Linked DNA regions of Homo sapiens: region 1 is linked to region 2. Evidence: promoter capture Hi-C in 16 types of primary human blood cells and fetal thymus (Javierre and others, 2016). All regions are on one chromosome and are shown on one strand. The core of a region is centred on a gene start or on the middle of the fragment in contact, and the rest is flanking DNA. Distances in the headings are between cores, read along the strand shown. Region 1 overlaps SCOC-AS1 (SCOC antisense RNA 1). Region 2 holds the start of UCP1 (uncoupling protein 1).

The links. The method cuts DNA at HindIII sites, captures the fragments that hold promoters and counts their contacts. A CHiCAGO score of 5 or more calls a contact.
Region 1: a fragment that was not itself captured here is called in contact with the fragment with the promoter of UCP1 in region 2 in 1 of 17 cell types (endothelial precursors); the score reaches 5.3 in endothelial precursors.

What each region holds. Positions count from the first base shown.
Region 1 is chr4:140,358,755-140,364,947 of GRCh38, reverse strand. The region is part of intron 2 of SCOC-AS1 (SCOC antisense RNA 1); the gene reads left to right. It also overlaps a transcript of SCOC not described here. Among named protein-coding and RNA genes, the nearest start is that of SCOC-AS1, 12 kb to the left of the region's middle. The HindIII fragment of the contact is 1,321 bases long and covers 593-1,913 here.
Region 2 is chr4:140,567,676-140,572,965 of GRCh38, reverse strand. It overlaps UCP1 (uncoupling protein 1), which reads left to right and starts at 4,005. Exons shown (of 6, transcript NM_021833.5): 1 at 4,005-4,362; 2 at 4,989-5,187. The coding sequence starts at 4,237. The HindIII fragment of the contact is 4,953 bases long and covers 651-5,290 here.

The DNA.
Region 1 (6,193 bases), core at 4-2,503, 210 kb after region 2:
TTTCCATTGAGTACCCTGTGTAATAAGGCTTAAGGGTTCTTAAGAGCCAAGGATCTAGAAGCTGAATTAAAGACATTGTGTTTGGGGGCAAGTAGACCACATTGACAGCTTCAGTTTTGACCTCATGGGGTTCTGGGTGGCCAGAGGCACTGTCCAATATCAGAAAAAAATTTAAAGGTAGTCCCTATGGGCAAGGTAATTCCTGACTTCAGGGACAAAGCATTGATGGAAACAATCCAGAAAAAGGGTTCTCATTGTCTGGGCCTTCTTGTTGTACAGCCATTAAGACTGGCAGCTGATGTTTTTCTTTTCCCTTCAAGGCTCAGGGATGAGCAGCTTTATAGATAAGGGCAGTCCTGATCATAACCCCCCTGCATTTGCACAAAACAGTATAGGTAGCCTATCCCTTCCTGCCTTAAATCCTGGTGCTCACTTCTCTTCCTTACTAATAAATGTCCTTTGTGGATTTTTTTTCCAGAATAGGGCACTTTGATCTGCATTAGAAACCTGTTCAGGCAGATATTCTGTCTCCTCAATGATTTTCTTAATGGCATCTGGAAACTTGTCTGCTGTCTCTTGATTGGCAGAAGCTTCTTCTTTAATTATCTTGACATTTTTAAAGCCAAACCTCTTCCTAAAATTATTAAGCCATCCTTTGCCAGCATTAAATTCTTCAGGTTTACATCCTTCGCCTTCCTTTTGCTCTAAGTTGTCATATAATGACTTCGCTTTTTCTCAAATCACATCACAGTAGGTATGCCTTTCTTATAGCAATCCTGCATTCCCACAGAAAAACTGCATTTTCAATACTAGATAAAAAGGTATTTTGCAAAAAGTGTAAGTTTTTCATGCTTGCTGGTGTAGCTGCAGTGATAGCTTCATGAATTTCCTTTTCTTTTTTTACAATCTTTCTTAAGCTGAATTCATTTATCTTGAAACGGTGGGCAACCACAGCTGCAGACTTCAATCTGCAATACATATCAAGCAATTCAACTTTGTCTTGTAATGTCATGAATTTTCTCTGCTTCTTGGGAGCACTTCCAGCATCACTAGTGGCACTTTGTATGGGTGCCATGGTGTTATTCAAGGTTTACAGTATTGCACTAAACACAATGAAAAAACACTAGAGAACCACAAGAGATTACTTTTTACTGCTATAGGCAATTTACCAGAGAGATGAACTGCTCACACAGAGATAATTAGCATCCCATGGCATTTTAAGTGGATACTCACAGCACTTAAGCTCACAGCAATAGCAGCAGGAAGTGGCTGTGAAATTATGATGGTAGTACAGTATGTACTACAGTTAATTTTATGCACTTATGGTTTAATACAGCATCTGTACATTTGTTTACATTTCTCTCAACTGCAAATGGTGCCATGTGTGCTCTGTAAGCATGTGCATAAGTTTTGATAAATTGTAACTTTTTATAATAGATTTGTGATATTTTATGGTAATAGTAACACAGACTAGTATCTACATATGTTTATGCATTTGTGACATACCTAATTTTTTATATATTTCTAGGCTATGAAGTTTGTGAATTTTTCCAAATTGTCACAATCTCCAAAAAATTTTCCATTATATTTACTGAAAAAAATGCATACAAGTGGACTCATGCAGTTCAAACCCATGGTGTTCAAAGGTCAGCTGCACTTACAAGCTAACGATTGCCTGTTTCATGAATGCTGGCGGAAGACATGAGATGTCTGGGTCAGAGTCTAAGGACTCTCTTACTCCCAGCTCATCATGAGCTTCATGCTGATTTGTTGCTGTTACCTATGTCCCCCAAGTCCCACAGGGATGAGGCAGAGGGCCCCTGTAGATGCCTATACATGCAGCGGGTTATAATATAGGAGAGGAACATTGAGTTTGGGGAATCTTTGGCTTTTATGGCAAGTGGAAGCAAGCTTGCTCTTTAACCAGAGAGGCATTACCTCATCCCTTAAAGTTGCTCTCTGAAAACATACCTGAGTAAAGCCTGGGTTGACTGTATTCTTGGCATACCAGCAAGAATATGCAATGACACTCAGGGCCCATCCCAGTTTGCTTCTCCCAAAAACCTCTAAATTGAATGATCTTTAGTTCTGTGTCAAACTCCTGTTTTTCTTCCTCCTTCCTTATATAGTATCCTAAGGGAAATACCACAAAATGTCTCAGAAAATGTTGGTTGGATATCTAAAGTTTAAAAAGGAAGAGAACCACACCAGCTGGAGATTAAAGAAGCATCAGTAGAAGTCAGTGGCCATTAATAGAAATATTTTTAAAATAAGTCAAGTAGTATTTTTGTAGCTCCCTCCCTAACCTTTCTTTTCCACTATTTGACCAAACCCTACAACAATAAGAAGTAACAGCTGGGCACAGTGGCTCACGCCTGTAATCCCAGCACTTTTGGTGGCTGAGGTGAGCAGATCACTTGAGGTCAGGAGTTCCAGACCAACTTGGCCAATATAGTGAAACCCTGTCTGTAATAAAAATACAAAAATTAGCCGGGCATGGTGGCTTGGCCTGTAGTCTCAGCTACTTGGGAGGCTGAGGCAGGAGAATCGCTTGAACCCAGGAGGTGGAGGTTGCAGTGAGCCAAGATCACACTACTGCACTCCAGCCTGGGCAGCAGAGCGAGACTCTCACAAAAAAAAAAAAAAAAGAAGAAGAAGAAGAAGAAGAAGTAAGGACACACCTGTCTTTAGCCGGTCTTTAGTTTGTTTTAAAACAATTGCTTAAAATTAGTAATTACCAGGATAGTTAGTAACACTCATCGCAGTGAAGCAAATCATGCCCAGTGTGAAGCAAAGATATGGCCAGGCTCTCTCTTTCCTTCTTCAGTGAAGGCAGAAAACTAAAGAAAGCCTTGCTACTAAGGGATAGGGGCTGTGTCTGTGTCGTGCTCAGAATCACTCTCAGTGTCTGCTCTAAAGGCTGATGACAACCAATTTAAATCAAGTTCAAGTCCCCTTCAGCCTTAGAAGAAATAGCTCCTCAAGTTATTGAAAGAGCCCAGAATTCCTTGCAACTCATTCTTTATTATAGAATTATGAGTTCTAGAGTTTGTAGATTTTCTTTTTGTACTACATGAAGCGCATTACAAGAAAGTATCTTGTAGCTTTCATTTTGGGAGAAAATAGATGTAGTCCTCAGAGGTATTCTGAATCCATTCTTGTCACTCACAGAAGTTTCTTCACAGGAGATCTCCATGACTCTTTACGTTTCAAGGTATTAATTTTACTTGGAGCATTGTTTGTCCCACCCAAAGAGTTTTACGTTAAAATACATTATTTTATTTATTTAGAGAGAGGATCTCACTTTGTCACCAAGGCTGGAGTGCAGTGGCACAGTCATGGCTCACTGCAGCCTCAACTTCCTGGGCTCAAGTGATTCTCTTGCCTCAGCCTCTCAAATAGCTGGGACTACAGGCACAGAACCATGCCTCGCTAATCTTATTTCTTGTAGAGATGAGGTCTCATTATATTGCCCAGGCTGGTCTCAAACTCCTGGGCTCAAGTGATCCTCCCACCCTGGCCTTCCAAAATGTTGAGATCACAAGTGTGAGCCACTGCGCTGGCCTAAAATACAGTTTAATAGAGTTTTTCCTAACAAGCACCATTGGCCGCAACTGAAGTCAGCATTTTAACATTGTCACGTGACAGTCAGTTCTAGCTTTGATATAAAAGTCCTAAAGTGTACTCTTAGCATCACTTTCCAGAAAAAAAAAAAAAAACCCACTGCCGTGCTGCAAGGGACCATTGACAGAAATGGTGATTACAGTGCCTGTCCCTACAGGTCTGTCAGCAAGATAAAATAAGAAAATCTGAGAGAAGTTGCCTGGCATGGTGTCAGTACTCTTGGCATACCAGCAAAAATATGTAGCGAAACTCAGGGCCCATCCCAGCCTGCTTCTCCCAAAAACCTCTAAATGGAATAATCTTTAGTTCTGTGTCAAATTCCTATTTTTCTTCCTCCTTCTTTATACAGTATCTTAAGGGAAATACTACAAAATGTCGCAGAAGGTGCTGGATGGATATCTAAAGTTCAAAAAGGAAGAGAACCACACGAGCTGGAGATTCAGGAAGCATCAGTAGAAGTCAATGGCCATTAATAAAAACATTTTTTATTAAAATATTGAATCTGAATAGAAACCTCCTGTACTTCATTTCTTAAATCCCTTGAGGGTAGTAACTGCATCTTCTCCATTGATATAGCCCCTGCCAAGCACAGTGCCTGAAGGCAGGTCCACAGACATTGGCTGAATAAACGAGTGCTCTGTTCCCAGTCCGTACTTTCTCTGTGTCATAAAAAAGCTGACATGTCTGTGCTGCATTTGAGGATGACACTGGATTTCCACATTGCCTTTTCGCCTCAGAGCTTATATTACTTCCTATCAAGTTATCTCTCTGCCCCTCATCGCATCCCAGTGAGAAAGCAGAAAATCCTAGAAAGTCATTTTCCTTACTGTTCCGGTGGTGGCTCTTCACGCTTACAGAACGTTAGGTACACTGGGAACATCACCTAGAGGGACACTGACATCACCTCATCATAACATATGTCTCTGACAACTGTCAGGAGATATTCCAAGTAAATGAAAAGACACCGTGAATGCCACTTAGGGGTTCTACACAGGGAACTATTAGTGACAAAAGCCTATTTATTCTCTTTGAGATGGTATGCTGGTGACCTCTAGTGGCAAAATTGGTTCAAAATCAGCTTCTATTTCCCACAAAATTTACTTCTTTATTAATTCATACTTTAATTTTATCCTTTAGTAACATTCTCTACTTGTGGAATGTTCTTAATTATGCACAATGATTTGTGTCTGTTCATATCCAAGTAGCACAATTTTGGCATTTCACGAAATCACAGAACTGTTGAGCTGAAATAGTTCTCAAGGGACCTGTCAGTCTTATTTCATTATACCTGGAAAATGAGACCCAGAGGAGTCAAGTGGCTTGCCTGAAGCCTCACCACAAGGGGGCGACAAAAAGTCTTCTGACTCTAGCACACTGCCTGCCTGGTAGTAGAACCCAAGCGACTAAAGAAAAAATGGGATCTTGTTTAGAGTTCCATGCGGAGGAAGAGCATGTATGCTGTCCTATCCCTCACTATTGTATCCTGGGTGTGTGAGGAGCCTTTAATTCACAGGTCTTTAGAGAGAGTACAAAGCATCTGAAGGACCATCCCTGAGGAGCCTCACTCATATCTGCATGGGCATCTTTAGATCCCACGTCTCCAGCCTGAGTCTGATGTCATATTGAATGAGACTTCTGGGGCGTCTTGAGAGAGTAAATGTATTTTGCATTTGGAAGGATGTAAATTTAGAAGGATATAAATAATCTGTGTCCAGAGGACCAGCTGTGGTGATTTTTTAAATGGTCACAAATCCCTTGACATGCCCTCACAGACATCCTCTCCTACGTTCCTTCCCCTTGAAGCTGAACAGGCTTGGGACTGCTTCCACCCAGAGAGTGTAATGGAAGTGACGCTGTGTGACTTCTAAGAATCAATCATAAAAAGTACACACAACCTTCCTTGTTGGTCTTAGAACATTTACTCTAGGGAAAACTAGCCACCAAGAAGAAATACAATTCCCCCCAAACCACTATACTGAAGAGACCATATGTAGGTGCTCAAAATGACAGCTCCAGCTCAGCTCCCAGCCAGCAGCCAGCTTCCACCGTGGCTGTGTGAGTGAGCCACCTTGGATACACAGCCTGTCTAACTTCAGATGACCGCAGCCCCCACCCACATCTGACTGTAGCTGCAGGAGAGACCCCTAAGGGAGAACTGCTCAGCTAAGCCCTTCCTGAATCACTCAGCCACAAAATAGTGAGCAAAATGAAACGCTGTCGCTCTACAACACAAACTTGTGGGTAAATTGTTACACAGCCATAATATACAGAACAAATAGTTTCTTAAAGACATTTCTCTCATTCTGTAACAAACACTGAATGAAAATGCAAAATATGTTATATACATGTTAAATCCTGGTGGAATTGCACTTAATCTGTTCAACTTTCATAAATCAAAGAGTTCTTGGTCCAAATGAATAGGTATTCTAGGTGACAGAAATATAAGTTCTTCCTCTTTCTTGAAATGGTGATTCCATTTAATAGAATGGTGATTAAAATGGAATGGTGATTCTATTTTAAGAAGGCTAAGTAAATTTTATGCAGTTTTCCAAAGGGAATTTTCTATTTC
Region 2 (5,290 bases), core at 2,756-5,255:
CATTTATCTGTATAATTATAACAGGGTATTTCCCAGTGGTGGCTAATGAGAGAATTATGGGAAAGTATAGAACACTATTCAAATGCAAAGCACTGTATGATTTTTATTTAATAGGAAGACATTTTGTGCAGCGATTTCTGATTGACCACAGTTTGATCAAGTGCATTTGTTAATGTGTTCTACATTTTCAAAAAGGAAAGGAGAATTTGTTACATTCAGAACTTGCTGCCACTCCTTTGCTACGTCATAAAGGGTCAGTTGCCCTTGCTCATACTGACCTATTCTTTACCTCTCTGCTTCTTCTTTGTGCCAGAAGAGTAGAAATCTGACCCTTTGGGGATACCACCCTCTCCCCTACTGCTCTCTCCAACCTGAGGCAAACTTTCTCCTACTTCCCAGAGCCTGTCAGAAGTGGTGAAGCCAGCCTGCTCCTTGGAATCCAGAACTACTTTCAGAATCTTGAACTTCTGTGACCTCTCAGGGTCCCCTTGTGTGAAGTTTTTGACGTCAGCTTCTCCTGTGACCCTTAGAAGTCACTCTTGTGTCTAGCACATCCCAGGTGCTCAGTCACCATTGAACTACAGTCATACTATCTCCTGGCAAAGGCTCTTAACTGTCCATGTTAGCCTGATATTAATATCCTGGAAGCTTATACTGTCGTTCTTCCTTCCAGGTTTAAATAAGGCAGCCCCTTTATCCTGTCACAGGTCCTCTCTCCCTACCTATCCTTACCTGTTTTGGATAACAACCTTTCTTATTTCTAATAGATTTATTTATTTCTCACATTTCCTTCCCTTATCATAGTTTTCCTCTCACTTTCTCCTCTAGTTTGTCATACTCTGGCTTTAAAACATGCAAACATGTGCCTTATGGGGAAAAAAAGACAATTTTAATTTACCTTGCTTCTTCTTTACAAATGTATTGTGGCTTCTTCTTATAGTCCAAATCTAAAACTCTTTACCCACCCACTGCCTTGAACTCCTTCCTCGTTGTGAAAGTAGGATGGGGCAAAGAGAGAATGCATGCCCCTCCCAACTGCTCAAACAAGTAAAGGTGCTGTTACAGTTATCTTTTGCTACCTTAATACAATAATTATTTTATTATATCTCACAATTTTATGGATCAGGAATTTAGACTGGGCTCAGCTAGGCGATTCTTCTGCTTTACTGACATCATAGGAGATCACTTGGTGGTATTCAACTGTCAGGTAGGCTTATCTGGAGGGTCCAAGATAGCTGTACTCTGGTGCCTGGTGCCTTGGTAAAGAGGGATGATGATGTGGGGCCTCTCCAGCATGAACAGCCTCAGAGAAGTTTGCTTTCTTACATGCTGGCCCAGGGCTCCAAGAGCAAATGTTGCAGTGAGTAAAGCAGAAGATACAAGGACTTTTATAATCTGGTCTCAGAAGCCACATGGCATCAGTTCTGTATTATTCTATTGGTCAAAACATTCATAAGCCTGCCAGATGCAAGGGGAAGGCATATGTACCCTCATCTTTTGATGGGAGGAATGTGATGGATTTGCAATTATGTTTTAAAACTACTACAGACAGAACCACTGAGAAAGATTCATGGGTAGCTTTGGGGTGAGGACTGGGAATTAACCTGTTGATAGCAGAGGTTCACTAGAGTCAACAAGGAATAAGGTCTCCTCTTGTACACTTTAGTCATACTATACCAACATTCTTAACCACTGCTTAGCCATCAGCCTCACAACATAACAACTCCATCATAGTTGTACTCCCTAAGATCACCAACAATGTTAGAGTCAAATCCGGTAGGTTTTTCTTTGTTTTTGTCCTCCTGACATTTTTTCTAAACTTGACACTGGTCAGACCCAATCTTTCTTTAATCATATTCTTAAATACCAGTTCTATCACTGGATATGTTACTGTTTCTTGTTCTCACTCTACCTTTGACAAAGCCATTCTTTCCAGACTATAACTCTGGGTCTGGGTCCCCCTATGGTTTGGCCCTTGAATTCTTTTCCTAGTCCTATTTGACTAGCCCCATTTTCCCGTGAAAAGCATGCCCCTTTCATTGCATCCATATCATGACTACCAAATACCTCCTCTATTTCTTCCTCTTTTAGCATGTTAAATGCAGCTTCCTAAGCTCTCTATCTGGATATCAACAGTATTCTCTCCAAATAATTCTAAGACTTTAAAAATTGGTTTAATCTTCTTACCCCTAAAATCACCCCCCTTACCAACTGCCTCATGACAATCATTGGTACTGTCACTGAGCTTGCAACCCATGTTCTTAAACATAGAGTAATCTTTGACTCCACATCTAATCATTCATAAAGCTGTATTGTCTATCAAATTAAATCTGACATTTATGTGAGAGCACTTCATAGTCTGTAAAGCACTACACAGGTGATAACATGAAGCTACACTCATAATGGATTTGCAGGCTCTGCTTCTCATTTGGCTTCTACAGCCTCATCCCTCACCAACTTCTTGCCCTACCTCTCTCTTTCTTCCCCATCACCCAATTTCCCAGTCAGTCAGGCCAACAGAATGCATTCTATATACGCGACTTGCTTTCCCCAACATCTTTGCCTGTATGCATGCCACTTATTTGCCTCAGTTGATCTTTATTTCAACAAGTGTTTGCAGAGGAGAAACCTCGCTGGCTCCTTCTCCTTTCTATTTTTTTTCAGAGGCTACCCGTCAGGTCAACATTGCCTTTTTCAGGGAAGCTCTGCAAGCCTGACCTCCCTTGGAAGTGCCTTAGGACTGGCTTCTTGCACAGTACACAACCTTTACTTATAGAGGGTTTGGAGATTATTCTTTATTCATGTCTTATTTCTCCTGCTCCTGGAGGAGATGACTCTGACTTCCACTGACTCTTTTGGGGGGCTTAAGTCAGGGTTGAGTACCAGAGGCCCTAAATAGCTGGACGTGGATTCTGGTAATATCAAATCCATCTTTGGCTTAACTGAGAGGTTCTGAAAGCTGGGACCTGACCTTGTCCATTTCCCTCTTTCTCCAGTTTCCTATTATTTCCCACTGTTTTTTTTAAAAGTTTTTTGTTTTCTTAAGTTTTCACAAGAATAAACATTGAAAATAAAATTTGCACAAAGATCGAACTAGGAAAGGCCACACAACCAACACATATTACATCATTATAGGTAAGTTAGCAGGGAGATTTCAGACCTGGGCTAGCTCTGGAACCACATTTTACACTGTTGAAAATAAAAGCTGGAGTACAGATGACTTTCCCAGGTTCACAGAGTTGGTAAGCTGGAGAGCTGCACCTGGAGCCAAGCAACCTGCCCTGTCCTTTCCACTGCACCCTCTAAGAAATCTAATTAGAAGGAACAGGTGGTATCTCATTTTGTACGGTGCTTTAGCAATGTACTATTTGCTTTCTAGTGTGTCTATTGTCTCGTTTGACATCTTCTCTCAAAAAGTGATGAAACGAAACGCTCTTTTTGACAAGTTCAGAGTGCTCTTGGTTCCTGTGTGGGATTCTTCCAAGTCTGAATTTGGTAGTGGGAAGAGAAGGAATCCGGAGGAAGGAGGATGAGAAGTTTAAAGGAGAGGAAAGGGAAGCAGAGAAGGCCGCAAGGTGCCTGCAAGATGTCTGGGGAGTTGGAGGAATGGAAGAGTGCCCCGCTCTTCCTTCTGGGAGAGCTCCAGCTAGGCAGAACCTTTCACCAAGGCTCTGATATCGTGCTGGTTTCCGAAAGCCCCAGCCGAAGGTGTGCAGCCAAAGGGTGACAGAAGGTGAGGCACGTGCGGGGGCGCGGGTGCTGACCGCCGCGGTGCGCCCTCCCTCCGACGTGCGGTGTGCGGGGCGCAGACAACCAGCGGCCGGCCCAGGGCTTTCGGGGAGCGAAGCAGGGCTCCCGAGGCACCGAGCGAGAATGGGAATGGGAGGGACCCGGTGCTCCCGGACACGCCCCCGGCAGGTCCCACGCCCGGGTCTTCTGAGACCTCGCGCGGCCCAGCCCGGGAGCGGCCCAGCTATATAAGTCCCAGCGGAAGACCGGAACGCAGAGGGTCCTGCTGGCGCGAGGGTGGGTAGGAGGGGACGCGGGGACTCGGCCCCCAACACCGCGCTCCGTCTGCAGCCGCCGCCTCTGCACCGCCGCTGCCCGGCGGTCGGTTCAAAAAACAGAAATCGGGTTTGCTGCCCGGCGGACAGGCGTGAAGAGCAAGGGAAAGGAACTTCCTCCACCTTCGGGGCTGGAGCCCTTTTCCTCTGCATCTCCAGTCTCTGAGTGAAGATGGGGGGCCTGACAGCCTCGGACGTACACCCGACCCTGGGGGTCCAGCTCTTCTCAGCTGGAATAGCGGCGTGCTTGGCGGACGTGATCACCTTCCCGCTGGACACGGCCAAAGTCCGGCTCCAGGTAGCTAGGCAGAGGGGTAAGACAAGGGGTCTCAGGACAGAGGGGACGCTGTTGCGTGCATTCCATTTATTCTCTGCTTTGGTGTAACCACTGTTTCTAGGTAGGGTAGGTGACCTTCCAAAGCAGTCTGGCCTTGTCCCAGGGCTGGTGCTTTAGGATGGGAAACTGGAACTTTTTCTGGGATTAGCTGAAGAACCACCAGGGCCACAGAGAATGGGTTGACCATGACTACTACCAAATTCTCCCAAAATTTAGGGTGCACTTAGTATTTTAAGAGCTGAGAATATTGGCCTCTCCTGAGTTTACTAGTCAGGTGCTTTTTCCTTTCTTTGATTCTTCGGGGGTTCTGTCCTATCCTACTGCCCTAGGGGTTCTGGAGAGTTCCTGGGGAGGGGGATATTCAAAATGTGCATTGTAGCCAGCCTCCCTCCATCTGCGCGTGAGCGAACACACACACACACACACACACACACACACACACACACACACACACACGGTAGAGGGAGGTGGATGGAAGAGGAATGTTGCTGAGAAAAGAAACGGAAAATAGGAACACAGGGGGAAATCTTGGCTTAAGAGTGAACTCAATTTCGCTCCCTTCTGTTCTGCACCTTTCTTATTTCCAGGTCCAAGGTGAATGCCCGACGTCCAGTGTTATTAGGTATAAAGGTGTCCTGGGAACAATCACCGCTGTGGTAAAAACAGAAGGGCGGATGAAACTCTACAGCGGGCTGCCTGCGGGGCTTCAGCGGCAAATCAGCTCCGCCTCTCTCAGGATCGGCCTCTACGACACGGTCCAGGAGTTCCTCACCGCAGGGAAAGAAAGTAAGCCGTGAGCGTTCCTGGGAGGGGCAGAAAAGCCTTGGGCTCCGCTCTGTTCCAAAAAGTGTAACACACAGAGGAGTGGTTTTCATAACAAATTGGCGAG